Linked DNA regions of Homo sapiens: all the other regions are linked to region 2. The links are contacts of gene promoters, found by promoter capture Hi-C in human tissues and cell types (Jung and others, 2019). All regions are on one chromosome and are shown on one strand. Each heading gives the region's core, a stretch centred on a gene start or on the middle of the fragment in contact. The rest is flanking DNA. Distances are from core to core; before and after follow the strand shown. Region 1 overlaps KLHL26 (kelch like family member 26). Region 2 holds the start of RAB3A (RAB3A, member RAS oncogene family). Region 3 overlaps ELL (elongation factor for RNA polymerase II).

Region 1 (4,098 bases), core at 927-3,426, 440 kb after region 2:
CAAGCACAAAGGACACTTGTTCACCAGCTGGCCTCCTCCCAGCTCGGGCCGCGGGGTCTAGACTCCTTGGAGGGAAAGGAGGCTTGGGCCACTTGGGGTGTCGCAAGGGGAGGCAAACCCTCTGGGGAGTCGCACCTCCCCAGCTAAAATTCTGTCACTGTGAGGTACCTGACCGGCAGAGTTTTGGAGGAACCTTCTGGCCTTGCAGCCTCTCCGACATGGGCCTTTGGCATCCACGCTTTTTGGCCCACGCTCCCTGGAGACGCCTGGGTAGGGCCCAGGCTCACTGAGTCATGCTGTTCCTGGGGGTGAGGTGGGGGGATCTGGGTGAGGGATGTGCCAGCTTCAGGCATTTGCATAAGAAGTGGTGGCTAGGCTGGGTGCTTTGGCTCACTCCTGTAATCCCAGCACTTTGGGAGCCCAAGGCAGGCAGATTACAAGGTCCAGAGTTTGAGACCAGCCTGGCCAACATAGTGAAACCCCCTCTCTACTAAAAATACAAAAATTAGTCAGGTGTGGTGGTGGGCGTCTTTAATCCCAGCAACTCTGGAGGTTGAGGCAGGAGAATCGCTTGAACCTGGGAGGAGGAGGTTGCAATGAGCCGAGATCCTGCCACTGCACTCCAGCCTGAGCGACAGAGTGAGACTCTGTATCAAAAAAAAAAAAAAAAGAAGTGATGGCTGGGACGTTGTGCCCAGGGGCTTTGCTGCCTGCTGAAAGTGTTTGCATGGAAAGTTGTGGCCGAGACGCTGCGCCCGGTGGGTTTGTCACAGTCAGTCTGGCTGGGTGGCCTTTGCCTGTTGAAGCTTTCTCCACAATCTAGATCATCTCCACCAAGCCCAGAGGCCTTGGAAGGGTCCAGCCCCCCAGCTCCTGCTAGGAAGACTTAGGGGAAGAGGTGGCTTCCCAAGGAGGTTCTTGCTACTTTGGGGAAGTTCTCATTCCTTTGGCCTCTTGCCCCTTTCTTTTTTATTATTATTAATTTTTTTTGACGTCACTCTGAGCTCAGGCTGGAGTGCAGTGGCATGATTTTGGCTCACTGCAACCTCCGCCTTCTGGGTTCAAGTGATTCTCCTGCCTCAGCCTCCCAAGTAGCTGGGACTACAGGCGCCCACTACCATGCCTGGCTAGTTTTTGTATTTTTAGGAGAGATGGGGTTTCATCATGTTGGCCAGGCTGGTCTCGAACTCCTGACCTCAGGTGATCCACCTGCCTTGGCCTCCCAAAGTGCTGGGATTACAGGCATGAGCCAGTGCGCCCGGCCTCATGCCCCTTTCAGAAGGAGGATTTTGACCCTTCCAAGACGTGGACTCAAGTCCTTCTCCTGGAAAATGTGGTCAGATATGGCGGCATGAGGTGTCTCATCATACCCATGGGTGACTGTGGCTCCCTCTTTATGGGTTGTGGCTGTGACAGATTCCTCATCTGGGAAATGGGGCTCCAGGCCCACCAGGTGGGGGGTGTCTGGGAGGAAACGAGTGGGGAGAGGTCACATGTACCTCATCAGTGTTACTGTGGCAGTGCTGACGCCCATGATGGGGACACTGCCATCCTTCTGCCCGCCATGCCCGCATGGGCCTTGAGGGGATCGTCAATGCCAGCAAGCCTTGATGTGGCGTGCGTGTGTCAGGCAGGGAAAGGAGAGGGTGAACTTGAGCCATTGGGAAGACAGTAGTGCCATGACTTGGGCCGTAAGAGGGACAGCAGCAGGGGCAGCGAGAGAGTAGAGCACGTCCAGCGTGAGCTGGAGAGGGCAGGTTCCGCCAGGAGTAGGCCTGGGAGCAGGAGCTCGGCAGGGCGGGGGCAGGGGCGGCGGGGGGTGGCGCGTCTCAGCAGGGATGGGGGCAGGTGGAACTGGGCCAGCCCAAGAAGGGCACTGGCCCACAGGCCGAGCCACATCCAGGCCACTCGATCTGCCCCTCACAGCTGAGCCCCTTCTCTGGGAAGGAGGCCACCCTCTCCTCCCCTCCTTGTCGGCAGGTCCCAAGAGCTCTGGGAGTGGAATTGCTCTGAAAGCACTCACTTCAACCTGAATCGTGCAGTGCGATCGTCACAGCTGGACTGTTTCCACCTGGTAGCTGTGACCCCCGGGACGGCCTCCTTGTCGTTGTCCGTAGTTACCGGGGAAGAAAGGCTTTATTACCCTCCGCCATAATCGCACCATCTCCAGGGAGCCCCTGCGAATGTCATCCCACCTCCCCCACGGCGATTACTTTTTATCTCACCCACCTCTCCTCAGACACTGTAAAAGGGAGGCTTTCTCCTCACTCCAGCCCTTTGGTTTTTTCCTTTTTCTGATATTTGTGTGTGTGTGTGTGTCTTACCCTTTGGTTTTAGGGAATGTTTTAGATTTGGTGTTAAGAGGCCCTGGAGGAGGAAGAGAGGAGGAGGAGGAAGAGTGGAGGAAGAGGAGGAGGAGATGAGAGGGAGGAGGAGGAAGAGGAGGAGGAGAAAAAGAGGAGGAAGAGGAGGAGGAAGAGAGGAGGAGGAGGAAAGAGAGAGGAGGAGAAAAAGAACAGGAGAATGGGGAGGGAGAGAGGAGGATGAGGGGGAAGGACACAGATAGAAATAATTCAGCGACTTGGGGCCTTGGATCCTGGAAGAAGGGGGTGGGATCTACTGAAGGCAAGGGGTGACTGGGCAGCATGTGTCCCGGCATCCCCAGCTCTTTGCTCTGTGGACAGGATTTGTTAGACACATTTCTCTGCCTTTGTGCAGGTGCCACAGTCTCCTGTGTCCACCCCATGCCTGGTGCTGGACATGAAGGGTCCATGGGACAGATGGACCCTGCCCATGGGGCGCATACATGCCAGCAGGAGTTAGAGAACGTCGTGCGGTCATTTCCGGGCTGGCTGGGCCAGGGGGCCAGGGCAGGGTTTGGGTGAGCGGCATATCAGTCAGCCTCCTGTTTTGAAAGGATCCCTCTGTAGGCCGGGTGTGGTGGCTCACACCTGTATTCCCAGCACATTGGGAGGCCAAGGCGGGTAGATCACTTGAGGTCAGGAGTTCGAGACCAGCCTGGGCAACATAGTGAGATCCAGTCTCTACTAAAAATACACAAAACTAGCTGGGCGCAGTGGCGGGTGCTTGTAGTCCCAGCTGCTCTGGAGGCTGAGGCACGAGAGTCGATTGAACCCAGGAGCCGAGATTGCACCACTGCACTCCAGCCTGGGCGACAAAGTGAGACTCTGTCTCAAAAAAGAAAGGATCCCTCTGGCAAGAGACAAGGGACCCTCGGCCAAGGTGGGCCCTGGAGGGATGGAGAGGCACACGCAGGCTTGGGGATGCCTGGAGGTTGAGCTTGTGCTGACTGATAGTGGTGGCCAGTTTCTGCCCTCCCCACCGGGCAGGCTGAAGGTCAGGGTTGTCCTTGGTCCCGCGCGGCTGCACTGCCTGCAACAAGCAGCAGACTTGGAGGCGCCACCTGGCCTAGGGGATTCGCAGCCCTTCCTGTGTTCCAGAAAAGCCCTTCATGCCTCTCCTTGCTCAGGGTTCGTGCCACTTGGAGCTCCCACAGTCCTTGAGGGCTTCAGGTCTTCCCACCAGCAGGTCCCAGTCCTGGGAATGTCCCTCCTCCTGAGAGAAGGCCTCAGTCTGGCTGCAGCTGCCCAGGAGGTCCTCAGGTAGCATCTCTTGTGGGTTCCACCTTCGAGCCACAGCCTGGAGCCAGCTCCTCCTGCTCTCTCCTCCCCATCCCAGCTCAGAGCCACTCCTGGCTCTTCCCCTTCTGGGCATCATCCCCAACTCCAGCCAGCGGGACCCTCCTAAGGCAGGAATCAGACCACCTCACTCCCCTGCCGGCCACCTGCCAGTGGCTCCCTCACTCTCAGAACAAAATCTACTTCTTGATGTGACCCGCTGGGCCCCTGAGCTTCCGCAGCTCTGACGGCTCTGCTGGGCTCTGAAGCACGCTCACTGGAATGTCCTGTCCCAGTGATTTGCACGGCTCAAGTGTTGTCTCCTCGGGGCCTGGCCACTGTGTCCACCGTGGCGCCACTGCTCGCCCTGTCGTCATGGTACATTCTCTGCTTGAGGACCCATGTCCCTGTAGAATGTACGTTCCCCAAGGGCAGGGCTTTATCAGATCTTTTTACAGTG
Region 2 (4,141 bases), core at 954-3,453:
CTTGCCTGTACTCCCAGCTACTTGGGAAGCTGAGGCGGGAGGATTGCTTGAGCCCACGAGTTCAAATCCAGCCTGGGCAACAGAGTGAGACTCTGTCTCTTAAAACTAACAAGGCCAGGTGGGGTGGCTCATGCCTGTAATCTTAGCACTTTGAGAGGCTGAGGTGGGAGGATCGCTTGAGCCCAGGAGTTCAAGACCAGCCTGGGCAGACATAGCCCGACCCTGTCTCTACAAAAAAGAAAAAAATCAGCAGGCGTGGTGGTAGAAGCCCGTGGTCCTAGCTACTCAGGAGGCTCAGGTGGAAGAATGGTTTGAGCCTGGGAAGTCGAGGCTGCAGAGAGCCGTGATCACGTAACTGCATTCCAGCCTAGGGGACAGAGCAAGACCACCCTGTCTCAAAAAACAAACAAAAAAAGAGAATGGGGACCAAGATCCAGCTGAAACCTCATACATGGAAGAACTTGAAGATGGGGAAACTGAGGGACCAGGATTAGGTGCTTATGGGAGAACACAGGTGCTGTTTCTGCCCCGGTACACAGTGGGCACCTTACTGATAAATGCCCAGTGTGTAAGTGAATGACTCCAGTCAGGAAAGAGATAGACGAGGTTGGGGCTGCTTTTCCAAGTACGGGAATCCAACCGAGCCGGGCGGGAGCCCTCCAGCTGGGACCCACCCAGATCTGCAGCTTGATCCTCTTGTCGTTGCGATAGATGGTCTTGACCTTGAAGTCGATGCCCACGGTGCTGACGAAGGCAGGCGTGAACGAGTCGTCAGCATAGCGGAAGAGGAAGGACGTCTTGCCCACGCTGCTGTTGCCGATGATGAGAATCTTGAACATGTAGTCGAAGTTCTGATCCGAGGACTCCTTCTGCCCATAGCGCGAGTCTGTGGCGGATGCCATCTGGGGATACCGGGTGTAGCAGAGCCGTGAGGGGGGCTCTCTCCATCCTCATGTGCCCAAGCCCAGGCAGAAGATGGCAAGGGCTCCAGAAAACGGCCGGTGTATGGAGGACACCCTTATCCCATCAGGAGCCCCAGTATTAATTGGTGGTGCCCCCAGCAGAGGGCAGCCTGTGACCTTGAAATCCTGGGCGTTTCAGAGGAGGGGCTCAGAGGGTTGCCGATGGGGACACCCCAGCAGCCCCCTTCAAGGGGCAGGTGCCCCAGGTGGGGCTGTAACCCTAAACCCAGGGCTGAGCCCGGAGGGGGTGACTGCGGCTGGCTCCGCCCCCCATCAATCTTTCATGGTCCTCAGAACCCGGCCGCGCGGCCCCACGTGCACCGCGTGCATGGTCCCTCGAGGACGCGCATCTGCAGCCCCCGCTCCCCGCAAACCTCCAGGCCGGAGAGCTCCGGCCAAGGCCGCTGCATCACATGATACAGGAGGGGCATGCACACGCTCACGTGCACACAGCCTCAAACACGCTCATCCGTACATACAGGAGTGTGTGAACGCACTGAGGTGCACAGGACAAAGACACAGACACCTGTTTGCACACCGACTCGCCTATAGAAATGTGCAAACCACCCGTGCGCACAGGCCCCTCCACCCATGCAGGCGTGTGCACATCACCCACACGGACACGGATCCCCGTGCTTGTATGCACGGGCCATACCTGCACAGGCGGTCCACACGTCTTTCTCCACGCGCGTGCAACGCTCACACACTTAGGCCCAGACCCCCACGGCGTCACACGAGCATATCCAGGTACACAAGCAAGGGTGCACACAGACCCGCTGACACAGGCAGGCGCGCACACGCGTGTGCACACCACGCGCACGCGCACGCAAAAGCCTCCCGCGCGCACAGCTTCCCGCAAGGAGCTCGGCTCCCCTCCCCCTCCGCCGCAGAGCAGGGGGGTTGGGGGGGTTAGTGGTGAGGATCAGGCAGGAGTGGGGCGCCCGGGCCCTACCCATTCCCAGCCTCGCGACCGCCGCATCCTTCCCCCCATTCAACCCTAGTCAACCTCGTCCCCCACCTCCATCAGCCCATCAGTCAAATGAAGGTTATGCAGGTGCTCGGAGCCTGAGCACACCCGGCCGCCCAGGAGCTCACCTTGCCCTGCACCGATGCAACGGCGACCCTAGCGGCGGTGACTTTTTTGGCGGTGGCGGTGACAGGACCCCGGTGCGTTGATGTGGGGCTGCGCGGCGGCGGCGGCAGCAGCGGCTCAGGCCCCTGCAGTCCTCCGTGACGTCCTGCAAAGGGAGGGGCGGAGCCTCACATGTAGATAAGTCCGTGACGCCATCCGGAGGCGGAGCCGCGCGTAGAGATGTGGCCCATTGACGCACGCAGAGCCAGATGGGGCAGGGCTCCTGAGCAGATTGACGTGCAAATGGGGCGGGGCCTAGCGTGTGCATCCAGTAGGGGCGGGAGCGGCGCGGGGGCCGACTCCGCCTCTCGTCCGCCTCCTGTCCGCCTCGGGGAGGCGGGGCCCCTCAGCGTTCTCTCACTGGCTTAAGCTCTCGAGCGACGGGCGAAGTAGCCAATCAGAGATTGTCTACGCCCTCCTCTTGTCCAATGGTGGCATCTGGGAGATTGAAGGGCCGAGAGGCTGAGGCCTTGGCTGAGCCCCGGTCTTCGAGGGGCGGTTCCCTTACCCGCCCGCACCCACCCCAGGTAGGGGACTCTTGAGGCCACCGTCTAGTCCAAGGTGCTGTGACCCCTGTTAAATGCCCCTGACTCCCAATTGCAGAAAAGAAAAATCGAGGCCCAAGAGATGTTTTATACCCTCACATATATGGGGTTCAAAATAAATACCAAAGAATAAACAGGAGTCAAGAGGGACCCCTGTCCCATTCCCGAGGCGTAAGACCCCCCCACTGAGGGAGGGGCTAGTAAAGACTCCACCCCTCCCCCGTTTCTGAGGTTTGAAAAGAAAGAAGTAGAGGTCAAGAGAGCCTCCCCTCCCCACCATTCCCAGAAAAGGAGGAAGGGGCTGATGGACTCTCTGGGAACCCCCTCCCCTCCCTGCGCCCCGTCATCAAGAAGAAAATTCGAAGAAAAGGTTTAGCAGGGACAGAGAAGCGACCTGTCCCGGAAACCCCTTAAAGCCTGCGGTAAATGCCCCGGGAAACAGGGAGGGCACGAGCCGAAGCCTCCAGCTCTTCAAAGCTCGGATTCAAAGACCCGGGGGCTGGGAGACCCCCTCCCTCCATCCTGGGAAAGCAAAACTCAGAGGATGGAGCCTTTTGGGAGCTAAGATGGTCCATCTTTTATTCCTCCAAATCTTTAGGGAAGGAAGTCAGAATTTGGGGAGGGAGGAGGAGCCCGAAACCCCAGCCCCCACTTTGGGTCTCCTGCTCCCCCTACTCCAGCTTTCAAACCCTCCAGGGGTGTGTGGCCCCCAGGAGAGTCCTGATCCCCTAGATTCTCCCCCCACCCCTCCCAGTAGGCGGGGCTGGAGCGTGTGTGTGTGGCGGGGGGTGACTCGTCCTGTTTATAAAAAGCTCGCCAGCTGCGGAGGCGCCGAGAGACCAGAATAACTTAGCGCCTCGAGGCCCAGCCGCCGCCAACCCAGTCCCCAGCCCGCCCCCAGTGCCCTGGGAGTACTGGGACGCCCACCCCCACGTCCCCGCACCGTTTACATTTGGGAAATTTATTTTTTCTTTTTAGGGTAACATGTTTGCTCCCTCCTCCCCCACTCGGACTATAGAAGTATCACCAATCCACTGCAGAGAAATTGGGAAAATTCAGAAAAACAAAAAATAAAAAGAAATCCACCTCCCATTCTCCCTGCCCTCCGCGCCCACGCGGTAGTCCGTGCTCTGTGGGGGGCTCCAGGGCAGCTGGTCCAGGCCCTGGCCTGCCGCCTCCTTGGAGGGGAGGTTTTTCGGTTGCTCAGCTCCCTGATCGCCCAAAGGCACGCTTCCTACATGGGTGGCTCTCTCGGAAATACCTCCTGCCTTTTTTCCCCAGGAAGAGAAAAGTGAGCCACGAGAATGTGCGGAAGCTTCCGTCACTGACTTAGTATTTTAAAGTAAAAATAGCCGGGTGCGGAGGCTTACGCCTGTAATCCCACCACTTTGGGAGACCAAGGCGGGAGGATCGCTTGAGCCCAGGAATTGGAAACCAGCCTGAGTAACATAGGGAGGCCCCATCTCTACAAAAAATTTAAAAATTAGCTGGATGTGGTGTCG
Region 3 (3,982 bases), core at 963-3,462, 300 kb after region 2:
CCTGTCACGTTCATCTCTGCCTGGGAGGAAGGGGAAGTGGCTACAGACTCCAGAACCTGCAGCCTGGGTCCGGTCATCAGAGCAGTGATGCTCTCTGTCATTGGTCAGCAGAGGTTAGGCCCACCTGTCAGGCCTCAGAAGAGCCTGGCACCGCCCACAGGGTGGATCAACGGGTTAATAAGTCACAGCAGAAAACCTGAGGCTCGACTTTAAATAAACAGAACTCTCCCAGCTGCATCCCTGCCAAGGCCCGAGAGTGACACTGGCACATGAGCTATATCTCCCCCCACCAACACACCCCATGGGCTGTCATGAGAAACACTGCATATACCAGAACCCATTTACTCTGGGACACTCTCCACGGAGCCCTGCCACCACCTGTCCAGTGGACAGGGCCTGAGGGACACAAAGCCCCCACAGCCCTGAGCACCCGAGGAGCCACCTGGCCTGGGGATGTGTGATGCCTGCGCACAGGAGGCTCTCAGCCCACAGCTCCAGCAGAGGAAAAAACTCTTGCCTTGTGGAGACAACCCAGGCTTTGACTATTCTGGGCTGCCAGGGCTGTGGGAGCAGCAGGTCAAGGTTCAGGACATCTCACCCTCCTGCCATCATGGCCAAACCTCAGGCGACTGAGAACGATGGGCAACTTCTGTGTGCCAGAGGGCAGTGACATACCAGGACATCAGGGGAACACAAGCCACTGTCCCGTAGCCCCCACTCCTCTCCCATCCTCTCCTCCCCTCCCCTCTCCTCTGTGGTGTGCTTTCTTCTGCATCTGCCACAGCTCACCCAACAGCAAATGCAATCCCAACTAGTTAGGCTCTTGTTAGGACTGAAGATAGCTTTTGCTATTCTTCTCTACTCAATTCTTCATCCTAAGGATGCTGTGGCCAGTCACACCCTCCCACGGGCAAGGGCACCCGGCAATAAGCCCCAGCTACTGCCATTACTCATCCCACTTCCCAGGCAGGCAGGAAGGCAGGTGTGCAGAGCACTGGGCAGGGCCATAGTACCTGTGCCACACACACACATGCTCTTCACCTCATCCAGAGTTTCCTAGGTTTTGGTGCTTCAACAGCCCTCAGTAACGCAGGCTCCTTACTATGAGATAGCCTGGGAGAGAGCTGGGGTTTCTGTGATGGGAAAGGGCTAAGCCGGGAAAGGAAACAGTGTGTGACTGGCGCCTTGCAAGCCACCTAAGGCACCAGGCACACACAGGGGAGGGGAGAAGAGGACGGGAGAGGAGTGGGGGCCACGGGATGCGGCTTGTGTTCCCCTGATGTCCTGGGACACAGCTCCCTGAACCCCAAAACACCCCACGGACAGGAAAGCAAAGTAAGGAGAGGTGAATGTGAGTTGCAGGAGGGGCTGCAGGCACTGACCTGACCTCCCACCCACAGGATGACCCCACACAGCAGAGGGAGAAACTGAGGCCCAGAGGGTGGCACCACTGTACAGTCAGGTACCCCCACCCTGTGTCCTGCTCTGTACTACACAGACCACCCAGCACACATGTGGCCAATACCAGTGAGGCAAAGGTGGCAGCCTGGGCCCCCCATGCTGGCCCTCAGCCATCCCTGGGACAACAGTCTAGACACCCAGAAGCTCTGCACCTAGGCCCACTGACCCAGCCTCCCTCCAAGCCCTGGGTGCCCATGTGTGCCCAGGCTGCTGCCCCTGGCACTCAGGCCATGCCACACGCAGCAGCTGGGTCTGAAGCCTGGCTTGGAACCAGCCCCCCACAGTCAACATGGAGACAGCCCTGCTGGCACCGCCCCAGGCCTGGGCCCTGTCTCCCGCACCCTCCAGCGACCTGCCTGGGCCACCCTCAAGGTGCGCCTGCTCCTAAGCCGCCTCCCACAGTGGAGGGACACCCGGGCTGCTTCAGAGCAGACTGTGGCAAGTTACCCTCTCCCCCAGGGGGAAAGGGATCCAAAGCTCCTGTGCCTCTGGGGTGCAGCATCAGCCCAGACTTCTGCTCGGCTGGGTGCCATGGCTCACGCCTGTAAGCCCAGCACATTGGGAGGCCAAGGCAGGAAGTTCGTTTGAGGTCAGGGGTTTGAGACCAGGCTGAGCAACACAGGGAGACTCTGTCTCCATATAAATAAAAAATTAGCCAGGTGTGGTGCCACGCACTTGTAGTCCCAGCTATTTGGGAGGCTGAGGTAGGAGGATCACTTGAGCCCGGGAGCCAAGGCTGCAGTGAGCTATGATCACACCACTGCACCCCAGCCTGGATGACAGAGCAAGACCTCGTCTGAAAAAACAAAAGCAGACTTCCGTTCAACAGCATGTGAACCTCACCTTGCACACCTAGGAGTTCGTTACCCTCCTCAGCTCAGAGATTAGAGGGAACTCTCCCCACAGAGATGCTATGATCAGAGGGCCAGGGACCCTGTCTCATTGATCCTACGCTCTACGCCAGACATCGCCTCAGAATCCTTCTCAACACGGCTCCACTTCCTATCTACAAGGAGCTGGCCTACAAGATGGAAGCGATTCCTACATTATGGGGTCATGTGGCTCCAGGCACATGGCCCTCGACCAGTGGGAGCCTGTGCACAGGTAAGAGAGCCAGGGCAGCCTGGAGATGAGCTGGACACAGGCTGCCAGCACTGGCTGTCCCCTCCCACTTGCCAAATCCAGTGTGAGCTGAGCACATTTCACTGGAACAAGCAGGCGTCTGAGAGCATCCAACTCCAAAAATAGTGCCACCAGGAGAGGAAGGAACACGCTCTTCTAGCTGCACCCGCTCCCTGCCCTCAGATACCTCCCTGCACAGTCTGTGCCTGGCCTGTGGCAGTTCAAGGGTCACACCCAACTCTGAAAAGGGAGAGATAACATCCCCAGATAAGAAGAGTGAAAACAGGCCAAGTCTGCTGCCAGAGCCTGGCCACAGACCCACAGCCCCTTGGCAGAGAACTGCTCAGGAAGTCCTCCTCTGAGTCTTTCAAGCCACTGGTATCTAACAAAGAATCTAATCTGCACACGGCACTTGCCCCGAGCTAAGAAAGTTCTGGAAGGGTCTCCTAGGTCTCCCCAGCCCAAGGTGAGCTTGCTTCTGTGGAGGGAGATGCCTGCCTGCCCATGTCCACCACCACTGCACACCAAGCCAGTCTGAAGCCACCATGATCTGGCTGTTGCTGGTTTATGGTGCACCTCCCCGCTGCGAAGAAGTGGGCCATGTGAGCGCAGGGGCTTCATCCCTCCTGCTTCTTACTGGAGAAACACTCCTGGAGGCAGCCGAACCCTCACTGGGTGCAATCCCTCTGTGTAGGAGATTGCACTGTGTAGGTTGTGCCCCGCCGAACAACCACGCAGCTGAGGCTCAGCTCAGAGACTGCATTCAGAGCCCAACTAGAATCAGACACAGGTTCTGCGGGCCCCACTACCCATCTGGAGGCAGACGCCTGACCCCCAGCTCCATCCCCAGAGATGAGGATGCAGCAGGCTGAGGCTGACTCCATGCGGCAGCTGCTCCCAACTCCACAAGGGACACACAAGCCAGCCCTTCCCATCCAGGCTGCACATGACTGTGTTTTGTTTCAAAGGTCACATACAGGTCACAAATAAAGAGGCCGGTTCCCACTGGAGGCTATGTCAGGATTGATGCAGTCCCTGAGAAAAACTCCCGGAAAACCCAGGGACTCCCATGCGGGCTGAGAAACATTTTGAGTTTGCATGAGATCAAAATAGGAGTCACAGCTGAGTGTGGTGGCTCACGCCTATAGCACTTTGGGAGGCCAAGGCGGGAGGATCACTTGAGGCCAGGAGTTAACAGACTGCAGTGAGCTATGATCACACCACTCCACTCCAGCCTGGACAGCACAGCAAGACCCTCTCTCTAAAAAATAAAAACAAAAATAGAATAAAATAAAATACAATACAAGAGTCAGCAGCCAGGAGGGTAGCCTGTCCCAGAGTGGATGCCCTCAGGTTCAAGGTTTGACATCATCTGCACTAACTGTGTGATCTCAAGTTA

What was found. The method cuts DNA at HindIII sites, captures the fragments that hold promoters and counts their contacts. A contact is called where the count stands out against the background at its distance.
Region 1: a contact is called between a fragment that was not itself captured here and the fragment with the promoter of RAB3A in region 2, in 1 of the 25 tissues and cell types used here (dorsolateral prefrontal cortex).
Region 3: a fragment that was not itself captured here is called in contact with the fragment with the promoter of RAB3A in region 2 in 2 of the 25 tissues and cell types used here (dorsolateral prefrontal cortex and spleen).

Annotation. Positions count from the first base shown.
Region 1 is chr19:18,645,158-18,649,255 of GRCh38, forward strand. All of the region lies in intron 1 of KLHL26 (kelch like family member 26), which reads left to right. Among named protein-coding and RNA genes, the nearest start is that of KLHL26, 10 kb to the left of the region's middle. RefSeq lists enhancers at 2,937-3,747, 3,748-4,098. The HindIII fragment of the contact is 9,166 bases long and covers 1-4,098 here.
Region 2 is chr19:18,201,839-18,205,979 of GRCh38, forward strand. RAB3A (RAB3A, member RAS oncogene family) reads right to left here and starts at 2,204. Exons shown (of 5, transcript NM_002866.5): 1 at 2,058-2,204; 2 at 675-902. The coding sequence starts at 902. It overlaps LOC102725254 (a long non-coding RNA gene), which reads left to right and starts at 2,892. Exons shown (of 2, transcript NR_134910.1): 1 at 2,892-3,061; 2 at 3,618-3,725. RefSeq lists enhancers at 1,446-2,228, 2,261-2,555, 2,741-2,840 and silencers at 2,221-2,610, 3,496-3,555. The HindIII fragment of the contact is 10,728 bases long and covers 1-4,141 here.
Region 3 is chr19:18,504,464-18,508,445 of GRCh38, forward strand. The region is part of intron 1 of ELL (elongation factor for RNA polymerase II); the gene reads right to left. Among named protein-coding and RNA genes, the nearest start is that of ELL, 16 kb to the right of the region's middle. RefSeq lists enhancers at 170-219, 2,958-3,799. The HindIII fragment of the contact is 5,227 bases long and covers 1-3,982 here.